Linked DNA regions of Homo sapiens: all the other regions are linked to region 2. Evidence: promoter capture Hi-C in 16 types of primary human blood cells and fetal thymus (Javierre and others, 2016). All regions are on one chromosome and are shown on one strand. The core of a region is centred on a gene start or on the middle of the fragment in contact, and the rest is flanking DNA. Distances in the headings are between cores, read along the strand shown. Region 1 overlaps LCORL (ligand dependent nuclear receptor corepressor like). Region 2 holds the start of MED28 (mediator complex subunit 28). Region 3 has its middle 38 kb from the start of LCORL.

What was found. Contacts are between HindIII fragments. The CHiCAGO score rates a contact against its expected background, and 5 or more counts as called.
Region 1: a contact is called between a fragment that was not itself captured here and the fragment with the promoter of MED28 in region 2, in 2 of 17 cell types (fetal thymus and neutrophils). The highest score is 5.4, in fetal thymus.
Region 3: a contact is called between a fragment that was not itself captured here and the fragment with the promoter of MED28 in region 2, in 1 of 17 cell types (total B cells). The highest score is 5.7, in total B cells.

What each region holds. Positions count from the first base shown.
Region 1 is chr4:18,007,040-18,010,729 of GRCh38, reverse strand. The region is part of intron 1 of LCORL (ligand dependent nuclear receptor corepressor like); the gene reads left to right. Among named protein-coding and RNA genes, the nearest start is that of LCORL, 13 kb to the left of the region's middle. The HindIII fragment of the contact is 5,084 bases long and covers 1-3,690 here.
Region 2 is chr4:17,613,135-17,616,591 of GRCh38, reverse strand. It overlaps MED28 (mediator complex subunit 28), which reads right to left and starts at 1,951. Exons shown (of 4, transcript NM_025205.5): 1 at 1,779-1,951. The coding sequence starts at 1,937. MED28-DT (MED28 divergent transcript) reads left to right here and starts at 2,012. Exons shown (of 3, transcript NR_186331.1): 1 at 2,012-2,450; 2 at 2,554-2,660. RefSeq lists enhancers at 1,802-1,911, 2,012-2,301, 1,407-2,606. The HindIII fragment of the contact is 7,436 bases long and covers 1,861-3,457 here.
Region 3 is chr4:18,058,079-18,061,870 of GRCh38, reverse strand. No RefSeq gene overlaps it. Among named protein-coding and RNA genes, the nearest start is that of LCORL, 38 kb to the right of the region's middle. The HindIII fragment of the contact is 328 bases long and covers 1,888-2,215 here.

The sequences.
Region 1 (3,690 bases), core at 5-2,504, 390 kb before region 2:
TTGTAATCCCAGCGCTTTGGGAAGCTGAGACAGGCAGATCATATGAGGTCAGGAGCTCAAGACCAGCCTGGCCAACATGTACAGAAACCCTGTCTGTACTAAAAATACAAAAATTAGCCAGGCGTGGTGGCAGGTGCCTGTAATCTCAGCTGCTCAGGAGGCTGAGGCAGGAGAATCGCTTGAACCCGGGAGGCGGAGGTTGCAGTGAGCCGAGATCATGCCACTGCACTCCAGCCTGGGCAACAGAGCAAGACTCCATCTCAAATATATATATATACACACATACATACATATATACATACATACATATATATATACACACACACACACAGACACACACACATATATATATGTACCCATACACACATTTATGTATATTTTAGTGTTTGGAACAACTGTATTTTTTAAACTCTCAAAATAAAATTAGTAGGGTTTTTTCTTCTTTTTAAATTAACTAGATTTTCCACAGGCCTATGTAAGATACTTAAGTAAAATGCATGTTTGGTTAGAAGGAAACCCAGTGCTCTCTTCTGTATTATAATTTTCAATTAACTTTTTAAACTTAGAAGGAATTAGTGTAAAAGAATAGAGCACTGTTTACATGGAAAAAAAGCAGGTACTCTGACAAATAGATTGTTGTTTTAATTAGCTCTGATTATAGGTGCTTACACAGTTTATTCACTGGTGTCTCTTTTTTTAAAATATAATTAATTGTTCTTCAATGTCTTCTTCCTCCTCCCTTTCTGAACAGCTCAGTACTAAAACATCAAGTGGGAGAAAACAAGGGTAGGTATCCACACTGGGTGGGGTGCGTGGGAGGCAGAGCCACATCGTCATGTAAGAGGAGTGGGATCTCAGAACCTTATAGGGTGAGGAGGGTGTCCATGGGGGTTGATGGAATGAAGGGTAAGGAGCACCTCTCCATTGGAAGGCATGCTAAGGCAGGGTATTGGAGCCCAAGCAGGGTGATATGGTATCTGTGAAGGAGAGTGGCCTGGTATGGGGGAAGGTCAGCTGGTCCCAGCAAGGAGGACATCTACTTGGGGTGGGATGTCATCCTGCATGAGCTCTCAGGGCCCCAGTAGATACCAGGGGGTAGGGAGTGACCCATGTAGGATTGCAGCCTGGTGTAGGTATATTAAGGCTCAAGTGAGATGAGGAGGGAGTCCATACATAGAGGTATCTGAGTCCAAGGTATTAGAGCCTGAGGGTAAAGGGAGGAAGGCCTCTCAGTGGAGCTCGGTACAATATGGGATTTCATAGCCTGAGCAGGGTAGGGAGGATATTCTTGTAGGAGGGATGCCAGGCATGAGGAATAGGGACCTGAACAGGGTAAGGAGATTATATACATGGGGTAGGGATTTTGGGGCCAAGAGAGGTGAGGAGGGTGTCCGTGTAGGGAAAGAGACAGCTACAGTGGGAGATTGGTTACGTACATGAAGATTGATCAGTATTAAGAATAATGGGAGCCAGGCTTCTCATTGTCTGAGAAGGGATTTACTAATATGAAAGTAGGGAAAATTAGAATGCTGTCTGTAGTGTTGGATAGGAAATGAAGTACTTGTGCGAACTCATGGTTTTCATCATATATAGATATAGAAATGTATGTGTATGTATACATACACATGCCCTATACTGGTCATTGAGAAGGGGCTTAGGAGCAGTGGCAGTACGGTAGCAGTGAGCATAGTGTATTACCGTTAATTTCCTGATTTTAATGGTTGTTTTTGTGAGAGAATTGGGAAATACTAGGAATTCAAGAGTGGTGGGTCATTATGTAGACATTTACTCTCAAATGGTTGGGAAGATAAAGGTCTTCCTTACTATACTTAAAACTTTTAAGTTAAAGATTGTTAAAACATAAAAGTATTTAAAAACAGTGTCATTAGTCTACGTATGTTCTTGTGAATTAATCACTTTCAGCCCTAACTACCATAGTTAGTAATATACATGTTGTCTTACAGATTTTCCAGCACCAAGAATTGCCCCTTGAAATAATGATAGATAATATTTATTGAGTGCTTACCGTGTGTTAGGCAGATTCTAAGTTTTTATATGTATTATCACATATAATTTTCCATATGAAATAGTACAATTTTTATCTTCATTTTACAAATGAGAAAATTCAGGCTTAGAGAGGCTAAGTGACTTGCCCAAGTCTTTCTGCCTAGCAAATTCAAAAGTAGAATTCACATCCAGTCTTAACCACTATACCAGGTCAAACCTCATTTAAAAATTAGCAAGTCTCATCCTTTCTGGTCAGATTGTTACATCTAAAACTTTAGTAGTGCTGTTTTCATTTTATTTTAGAACTTGAGTTTCAGGGGTGGGAAAAAGTATTCTGGGTTTAGGCCTCCTCAGCCTTTTATTCCTGTCCTGGAGTGAGAGAGAACCGGGACTTCTGTATTTGAATGCACAGTGTCAGAGATAAGGATTCCCCTGTGATGGATTAATCAGAGAAAATATCCACTAATTTTTTTCTTGCTTTTACAACTGATGATGAGAACATGGAGTTAGTGGGCAAGGCTTTTCCATGGCACAGACTTGCAGTGTTAAGTTTTAGTCTGGATATAAAGTTACCTTCTATCCTAATTCTAAGAATGATGAGCAATACCTTTCCATCTCTTTTGAACTTTCCTCAAGAATGGCAGATGAATTAATAGGATATAGCTAATTGTTTCATTTTAACCTTCCTTTCCTTGTACTTATCTGTGCCAATTTAGGGTATGGAAAAGTAGTTTCTTGGTAAAATCCTGTATTTTTTTTACATACTACTCTTTTGGGATCAGCCCAATAATTACTTTTTTCTTCTTTGCTTTCTTAACCTTTTAGTATTTGTGTTCTGGCATAGCACATAAATAGAATAGAATTTGCCTATGAGTACATATTAGCTTGCTTGTCTAACTTTTCACTCTTAACAGTCTGAGCCCACAGATCCTTTCATCCTCTGTCAGAGTGAGTTTCTGCTGACCTACTCATTCCTCAGACCCATTCTAAAATTGCTGCCTTTATTTTATATAAAGAATAATAGTATTTTCAGTGTTGAAAGAAGCATGGCCATCTGCTAAAATCCTTTTGCTTATATTTTCTTCCTCATAATTTTTTTCAGTAATTATTTATGGACAGGGCATTGTACTAGGAGACTCAGGTGTATTAGATTGTCTTCATGAAGCACAATCTCCTGGGGAAAACAAGGCTCTCTGACTACAGAATACGATAAATGCGATAATAGAAGCATATACAGTATTAAATTTGTAGCATAAAGGAGGGGAATGGTGAGGTTTCCTTATATGAGTCCATGAACAATCATAAGATGATTGTGGGAAATGAGAAAAGATAGTTTGTTTAATTGAATCATGAAGAAACATGTAAGCAGGATATAGTAGTAATTATTTTAAATTATTTTACTGTGGATTAGGCATTAAGTGCTTATACTTAGAATTTATTTGATTTTCATAACTGTCTTATAAGACAGGAACTATATTTTTCATCCTACTTTATAGATAAGGCAATTAACTCACTTACACTAGAGGTGGAGAAAAACCACTGAAGAATTTTAAGCATGGGAGTGATATAGTTTAATTTGTGGTTTTATAAGATTACTCTGCTAGTATGGAGAATATAACAGGCAAATCAGGAGATGTCAAGATAGACCAAGCAAGTTTTGAGGGTAGTAGTGGAAACAGAGAA
Region 2 (3,457 bases), core at 702-3,201:
AAGTCTTGTGTGGCTGCAGTAAGGAAACGAGTCTGAAGGAGAGAACGCAACATGCAAAGCCTGGGAGACCACACTAAACATCTTGATCTTATCTCAAGGGCAACAAGCAGCCACTGTACGTTTTTAAGCAGCAGGGTGCTGGGAGTCAACTTTGGCTAAGACTTGTACAGGGCCAGTCTTTCAGCAAGTGCCCATGACTGAGAGCCAGCTCCCCTCAAGCACAATGCTAGATGCTGCTCTAAAGTTCACCAGCCCCTTCCTTTACCACTTAGCACCACCTCAAAGGTGTCTCCTCCTCCTCCTCCTAAACGGTCTGTCCTTTAAATCATTTATTTCTGGCTAGGCGCAGTGGCTCACGCCTGTAATCCCAGCACTTTGGGAGGCCGAGGCGGGTGGATCACGAGGTCAGGAGTTCGAGACCAGCCTGGCCAAGATAGTGAAGCCCTGTCTCTACTAAAAAATAAAAAAAATAGCATGGTGGCAGGTGCCTGTAATCCCAGCAACTCGGGAGGCTGAGGCAGGAAAATCGCTTGAACCCGGGAGGCGGAGGTTGCAGTAAGCCGAAATTGCGCCACTGTACTCCAGCCTGGGCGAGAGAGTGAGACTCCATCTCAAATCATTTATTTCTAAATCTTTGTACATCCGTGTGGTAAAAGCATTTTGTCCATGCAGTCTGAATAATCGCTTGCAAATTATATTCATTTACCACTGTGCTATTAGATACAATACAAAAGTCACAAAGTTGGGATTTTTATTTATTTATATTTTATTTTACTTTTTTGAGACGGAGTCGAGCTCTTGTCACCCACGCTGGAGTGCAATGGCGCGGTCTCCGCTCACTGCAACCTCCGCATCCCAGGTTCAAGCGATTCTCCTGCCTCAGCCTCTCGAGTACCTGGGATTACAGGCGCACGCCACCACGCCTGGCTAATTTTTGTATTTTTAGTAGAGTCAGGGTTTCACCATGTTGGTCAGGCTGGTCTCGAACTCCTGACCTCATGATCCGCCAGCCTCGGCCTCCCAAAGTGCTGGGATTACAGGCGTGAGCCACCGCGCCCGGCAAAACTGGGATTTAAAATGTGGAAAAGTTAACTCCAATTTGAACGTACATTACTTTATTACTACACAGGAATAGCTCATCTTCCACTTTAAAGACTACTGGAAATCACCAGAGCACTTATTTTCACCTCTCTATCTTCCCTCAATATACAGTTCACCTTTCTTGCTACAAGGTAAACTCCTTGGGCAAAACTGAGAGATTGGGTCACCTGTGCCTCCCTCCCTCCCTAACCTCCAGCATTCCTCCTTCCTCAGCTCTTAGTACCAAGCTGCGCCTGGTAACTTAAGTCAATTTCCGCTCTTAAGAGTCCCTTTAGGATCGTTTAAAGGTGAAGCCCAGCGGAAAGGATACAGGATACAGCAGTGAAACTCTCAGCTCCGAAAAGGCTTGAGCCTCTTACTAAACATGCAGGGATGCAAGAAACGGTGCTCGGGGATGAGACTAAGGACCGGCTGGGAATCTGGAAGGGTTCCAAGTTTGGGGTTTAGGCAAACTTCGGGTTCACGTTTCCACAAACGTCGAGTTTACGCGCCCCCGCCAGCAGACCTGAATTGAATACGGGCCACGGGGAAGCCTAAAGCAAGTGACTTACTTTAAGCCTCAGTTTCCCCATTTGTGAATTAGTTGCTCGGATCCCTGGAGGAGATACGCGTACGCGCAGTTCACGTTTCAGAAAAAAGGGAAGGCTAGGGACAAAGACGCCCATGTCTTATATTACCTCGAAAGATGACTCCAACTCGTCCACCAAAGTACTGCTGGAAGGTCTAGGAGCGCCTGGAGCTGCCTGAAGAAGCGAAGCTTGGCCCGGAAGGCCCGGCGGGGCCTGAGGGGGACCGGGTGGCTGCCCAGAAAACATACCCCCTAGTGGAGCCGCCATGTTTGGAATGGCGCAAGAGAGATCCACTGCGCCTGCGCGGAAGCCGGCTCAGAAGCTCACGTGGCTGGTGTAGTAGGCGTGGTCACGTGACAGGACCGAGCGATGGGAGGATTCTGGTGCACCCCGGAAGGAGGATTTTTAATTCTTCTGTTTTCTTGTCTATCGCAAAACAGAGTTTACATGTATTTTCCTTTTTTCTTAGCTTAAGAATTGAAGACTTTGGCCGGATTAGACCTGGTTGTGTGGAGAGGAGAATTAATAACTACAGTGGAGCGAGCCCTCCTGCGAGAGTCAGGATACTACTATGCTAGTCCCGACTCTGCCCCAAATGCCTGGAGAGACTTTGGCTAAGTCACTTTTTCTTTCCGCGGGCTGTTTACCGTTGGTAAAAGGAGAGGGTCACCCACTCACTCCACAAACATTTGTTGAGTCATTGGTTATAGCGGGAACAAGACAGGCAAAGTTCTTCCTGAATTCTGGTCGGAGATGGATAACGGAAACAACTTTGTTGAGGTTCCCAATGTGCCCGGCACTGATGTCTTTAAATATTTATGGTTACATCAAAGAGAAAGTCACTATGCTAATCTTTTTTTTTCTTTCTTTTCTTTTTTCTCAGGGTCTCGTTCTGTCGCCCTGGCCGGAGTGCAGTGTCATGATCAGGGCTCGACCTCCCGGGCTCAAACAATCCCCCTACTTCAGCCACCCAAGTAGCTAGGACCACAGGTGCGTGCAGTCGCGACGGGCTTTTTTTTTTTTTTTTTTTTTTTTTTTTAGTTGAGTCAGGTGTTTTACTGAGCTCAAGTGATTCTACCGCCGCGGCCTCCCAAAGTGTTGGGAATACAGTAATGAGCCAAGGCGCCAGGCTGCTAATTTTTTTTTTTTGAGACAGAGTCTCGCTTTGTCGCCCAGGCTGGAGTGCAGTGGCGCGATCTTGGCTCACTGCAAGCTCCGCCTCCCGGGTTCACGCCATTCTCCTGCCTCAGCATCCCGAGTAGCTGGGACTACAGGCGCCCGCCACCACGCCCAGCTAATTTTTTGTATATTTGGTAGAGATGGGGTTTCACCGTGTTAGCCAGGATGGTCTCGATCTCCTAACCTCGTGATCCGCCCGACTCGGCCTCCCAAAGTGCTGAGATTACAGGCGTGAGCCACCGCGCCCGGCACTAGGCTGCTAATCTTGTAGTAACCTGCTTTTAACATTTGCTTATCTCTCTCTTTTTTTTTGGTGACGGAGTCTCGCTCTGTCGCCCAGGCTGGAATGCAGTGGCGCGATCTCGGCTCACTGAAACCTCCGCCTCCTGGGTTCAAGCAATTCTCCTGCCTCAGCCTTCCGAGTAGCTGGGACTACAGGCGCCCGCCGCTCGGCTAGTTTTTCTGTATTTTAGTAGCGCCGGGGTTTCACCTTGTTGCCCAGGCTGGTCTCGAACTCCTGAGCTCAGACAATCCGCCCGCCTCGGTCTTCCAAAGTGCTAGGATTACAGGCGTGAGCCACCGTGCCCAACCTTCTTATTTATCTCTTT
Region 3 (3,792 bases), core at 802-3,301, 450 kb before region 2:
TAAAAATGCACACATTCACCATTTATTTATGATTTGGAAGGCTTAGTGTTTTTAACATATGGATCTACAGATTCTATGTAATTCCTATCAAAATCCCACCTGTGGGCTGGGCGCTGTGGCTCACACCTGTAATCCCAGCACTTTGGGAGGCTAAGGCCTCTTGAGTTCAGAAACTTGAGATCAGCCTGTTCAACATAGCGAAACCCTGTCTCTACTAAAAATACAAAAATTAGCTGGGTGTGGTGGCATCCACCTGTAATCCCACCTACTCAGGAGGCTGAAGCAGGAGAATTGCTTGAACCCAGGAGGTGAAGATTGCAAGGAGCCAAGATCACACCACTGCACTCCAGCCTGGATGACAGACTGAGACTCCATCTCAAAAAAAATGTCCTAGCTGCCTTTTTTTTTTTTTGCAGAAATTGATAAGCTGATTCTGAAATCTATATGAACATGTAAGGAACCTAGAAAAGTCAAATCAATCTTAAAAAAGAACTAAGTTGGAAATGTTCCTGATATCAAAACTTCAAACAAAACGACAGTAACCAAGACAGTGTAGTACTGATGTAAGGAAAGACATACAGATCAACGAAATAGAATTAAGAGTCCAGAAATAAACCCTTACATTTATGATCAACTGATTTTTGACAAGGGTGCCAAGACTATTGAATGGGAAAAGAATAGTCATTTCAACAAATGGTGCTGGGACAACTAGATATCCACACACAAAAGAATGAAGGTGTACCCTTCATGCCATTTATAAAACTTAATTCAAAATTAAGATGTATATAATTTTTCAAATGATGGACTGAATAGTGTAATAAATATGGCTGAAAATAAATATGTTAGTTGGAAATGTAAGTCAACTTACACTCCCAGAACACTGTATAAAAGGACAAAGAGGAATGTATTTTCAAAACTTCAGGAAATACTTCAACTGGATTCAGAAGTTTAGAACATATTTAATAGGATTTTTCAGAAATAATAACAAAGAATGGAGAAGAAACAACCAAAGAAATAAAAGAAGAAAATTTCCCCAAATTGATAAAAGATATGAACATTCCAGAGTCTAATGTACATATTATAAGGAGTATAAATACCTATTATAAATTTTCAGAATTTCAAGCAAAAGAAAATATCCTAAAAGCTTCCAAAGTAGGGAGGGGAGGGGCATTAATACCACAAAAGACTGAGATTTATAGTGGCATCAGAATTTGTATTAATTTTAAATGCCAAAGGTAAGGGAGCAATATCTTCAAAGTTCCAAAGGGAAATGTAAGCCTAACAAAACAAGCATTTATATTATTATAAAATGTTTGTATTTGAAAACTAACTGAATATTTACAGACTATCACAAACTTCTCAAGAGCGTAAAACAAAATAGGACTATACAATGGGGTTCATTTAAAAATTAAGGAACACTATTTCCATTTATTCAATATATATATGCATATATATTGAACTACTACCACATGACAGAAAATATTACAATCAGTAGTGACAGTAGTGACACAAAGGTGAACAAGATACAATCTCATTTTATTCATGATTCCATATTTTCAAATTAGCCTACTCCCTAAAATTAATTTGGAATCCCCAAGCACTTTCATTGTCATTTGTGGGAATGCACAGATCAGTGAAAATTTGAGTCACACATTTCCAGCTGAAGTTGAACAAGGTGAATCTCTGTCTTCTTTTTCAGCTGTCATACTATAAATGTGTCTTTTTAGTGGTCTATTTAGTGCCGATTTTTGTGCTTTTTTTTTTTTTTTTTGTAATCTCCTTGTTTAATATGGTCCCCAAGCATAGTACTGAAGTGTTGTCTAGTGTTTCTAAGTGCAAGGAGGTTGTGATGTGCCTCACAGAGAAGACAGGTATGTTAGCGAAGCTTCATTCAGACATGAGTTATAGTACTGTCAGCCACTGAGTTCAATGTTAATGAACTAGCAATGTATATTAAATGGGGTGTTTTTAAACAGAAATGAACATACAACAATGTTATGTATTGATCAACTGATGAAAATGTGACCAGAGGCTTTCAGGAACCTAATCCTGTATTTCCCGGGAGTAATAGTTTTGTATTTGCTAACTCGATGTTTACAGAACTTTACCATGAATAACAAGAATTGACTATTTTGTTTGTCCTCAAGTAGAGTACAAAGTTTTAAATAATATATAATTTTTCATAAATAAAAACCAAGTGAGCCATCTAAAAGCTTGAAAAGTGTAGTTCCAACTATATTCTTTAAACTTTACCAGCTGCTTTCCTTATTCTTTCAATATCTAAAATGTTCTAAATATAGTCTGTCAGTTCTAGCATCCTTAAATTCTTAAAAAGAGGGGAATCTGTATTTATGTTATTGTGTCAGCCATTTTTCTGGGTATTAAATCTCACTTTGTGTATTTTTTAAATTTAAAAATAATGAATTATTTTCCTGGGTGCTTTTGGAATCTTCTGTAGAAATCTCAGTGTGATGATTAATTTCAGGTATTAACTTGACTGAATTAAGAAATAGCTAGATAACTGGTATTATTTTAAGGAGTGTGTCTGTGAGGTTGCTTCTGGAGGAGATTGGCATGTGAATGTGAGTGGACTACGTGGAGAAGATCCACCCTCAATATAGGCAGACATGATCCAAATAACTGGGAGCCCTGACAGAATGAAAACAGAGGAAAGGCAAATTGATCCCTCTCTCTTCTTGAGCCAGGATACACTCTTCTTCTCCAGCCCTCGTACATCAGAAACCCAGGCTCTTCAGCCTTTGGACTTTAGGACTTATATCAGTGGCCCCCACAGGTTCTTAGACCTTCAAACTTGGACTGAGCCATGCTTCCAGCATCCAACTTGCAGAGGGCTGTCTTGGAACTTCTCAGCCTCCATAATCACATGAGCCAATTCCCCTAATAAATTTTCCCTAACATATTTATCTATAGATAGACATAAAGAGAGATGAGAGATAGAGACAGACAAATACATTAATAGATATATCCTATTGGTTTTGTCTGCTTGGAGAATGCTGACTAATACGCTCAGTATATCCTTCATTTCATGAGGGAGAAAAATCTCTGTTTTTTAATCTACAGAATAGTCAGCTTTGCATCTTTTAAAATAAATGTTCTTCTTTTATAAATTTTTATCTTTTTAAGGTCATTTTAATTTTTTTATAAATTTGCCAATTATTAACCAGTGAGAAATAGCAACACAGAAAAAAATTAATTAAATGGAACAAAAAGTACAGTACCAAGCAATGGTGAGATTCATGAAAAGCAACTGGGGAAAGATGTTAAATACTTTGAAAATATATATTCATATTAATTCTTATAAAAATATCTTTTTAAATTGAACTTCCTTTTTATTTCCCTTAAGAAATAGAATACATTCATTTTTATATAAAATAACCTTTTATTGTAATTGTTTCTCTCATTTGCATATTTGGCAAGACTTCCTTCTGTCAACCACTTATCTATAATGCTGAGACATTTGAAAGAGCTAAAACACAAGGGTTAATGGAAGTATCACTCTAACACATACTGAAAGGCATTTCTTATTCTTGCTGTCTTTGAACAAGAAAGCAACTAAATTTGCATACCATTTTGCTAATACAGGTAGTCAAAGCTCAACTGTGAGAGTGGAAGAGGAATTTTAAAAATTCTTTAACTGTTCTAAAATGTACCTTACTGAACCCTACTCCTGTTTTTTAGGGGCAGACTGACCAATATATACCAGATATAAATTAAAAATTAAAAAATATACAATTTTAATAGCATTTTCTTTCAGTCAAAAGTGTCCTAGTG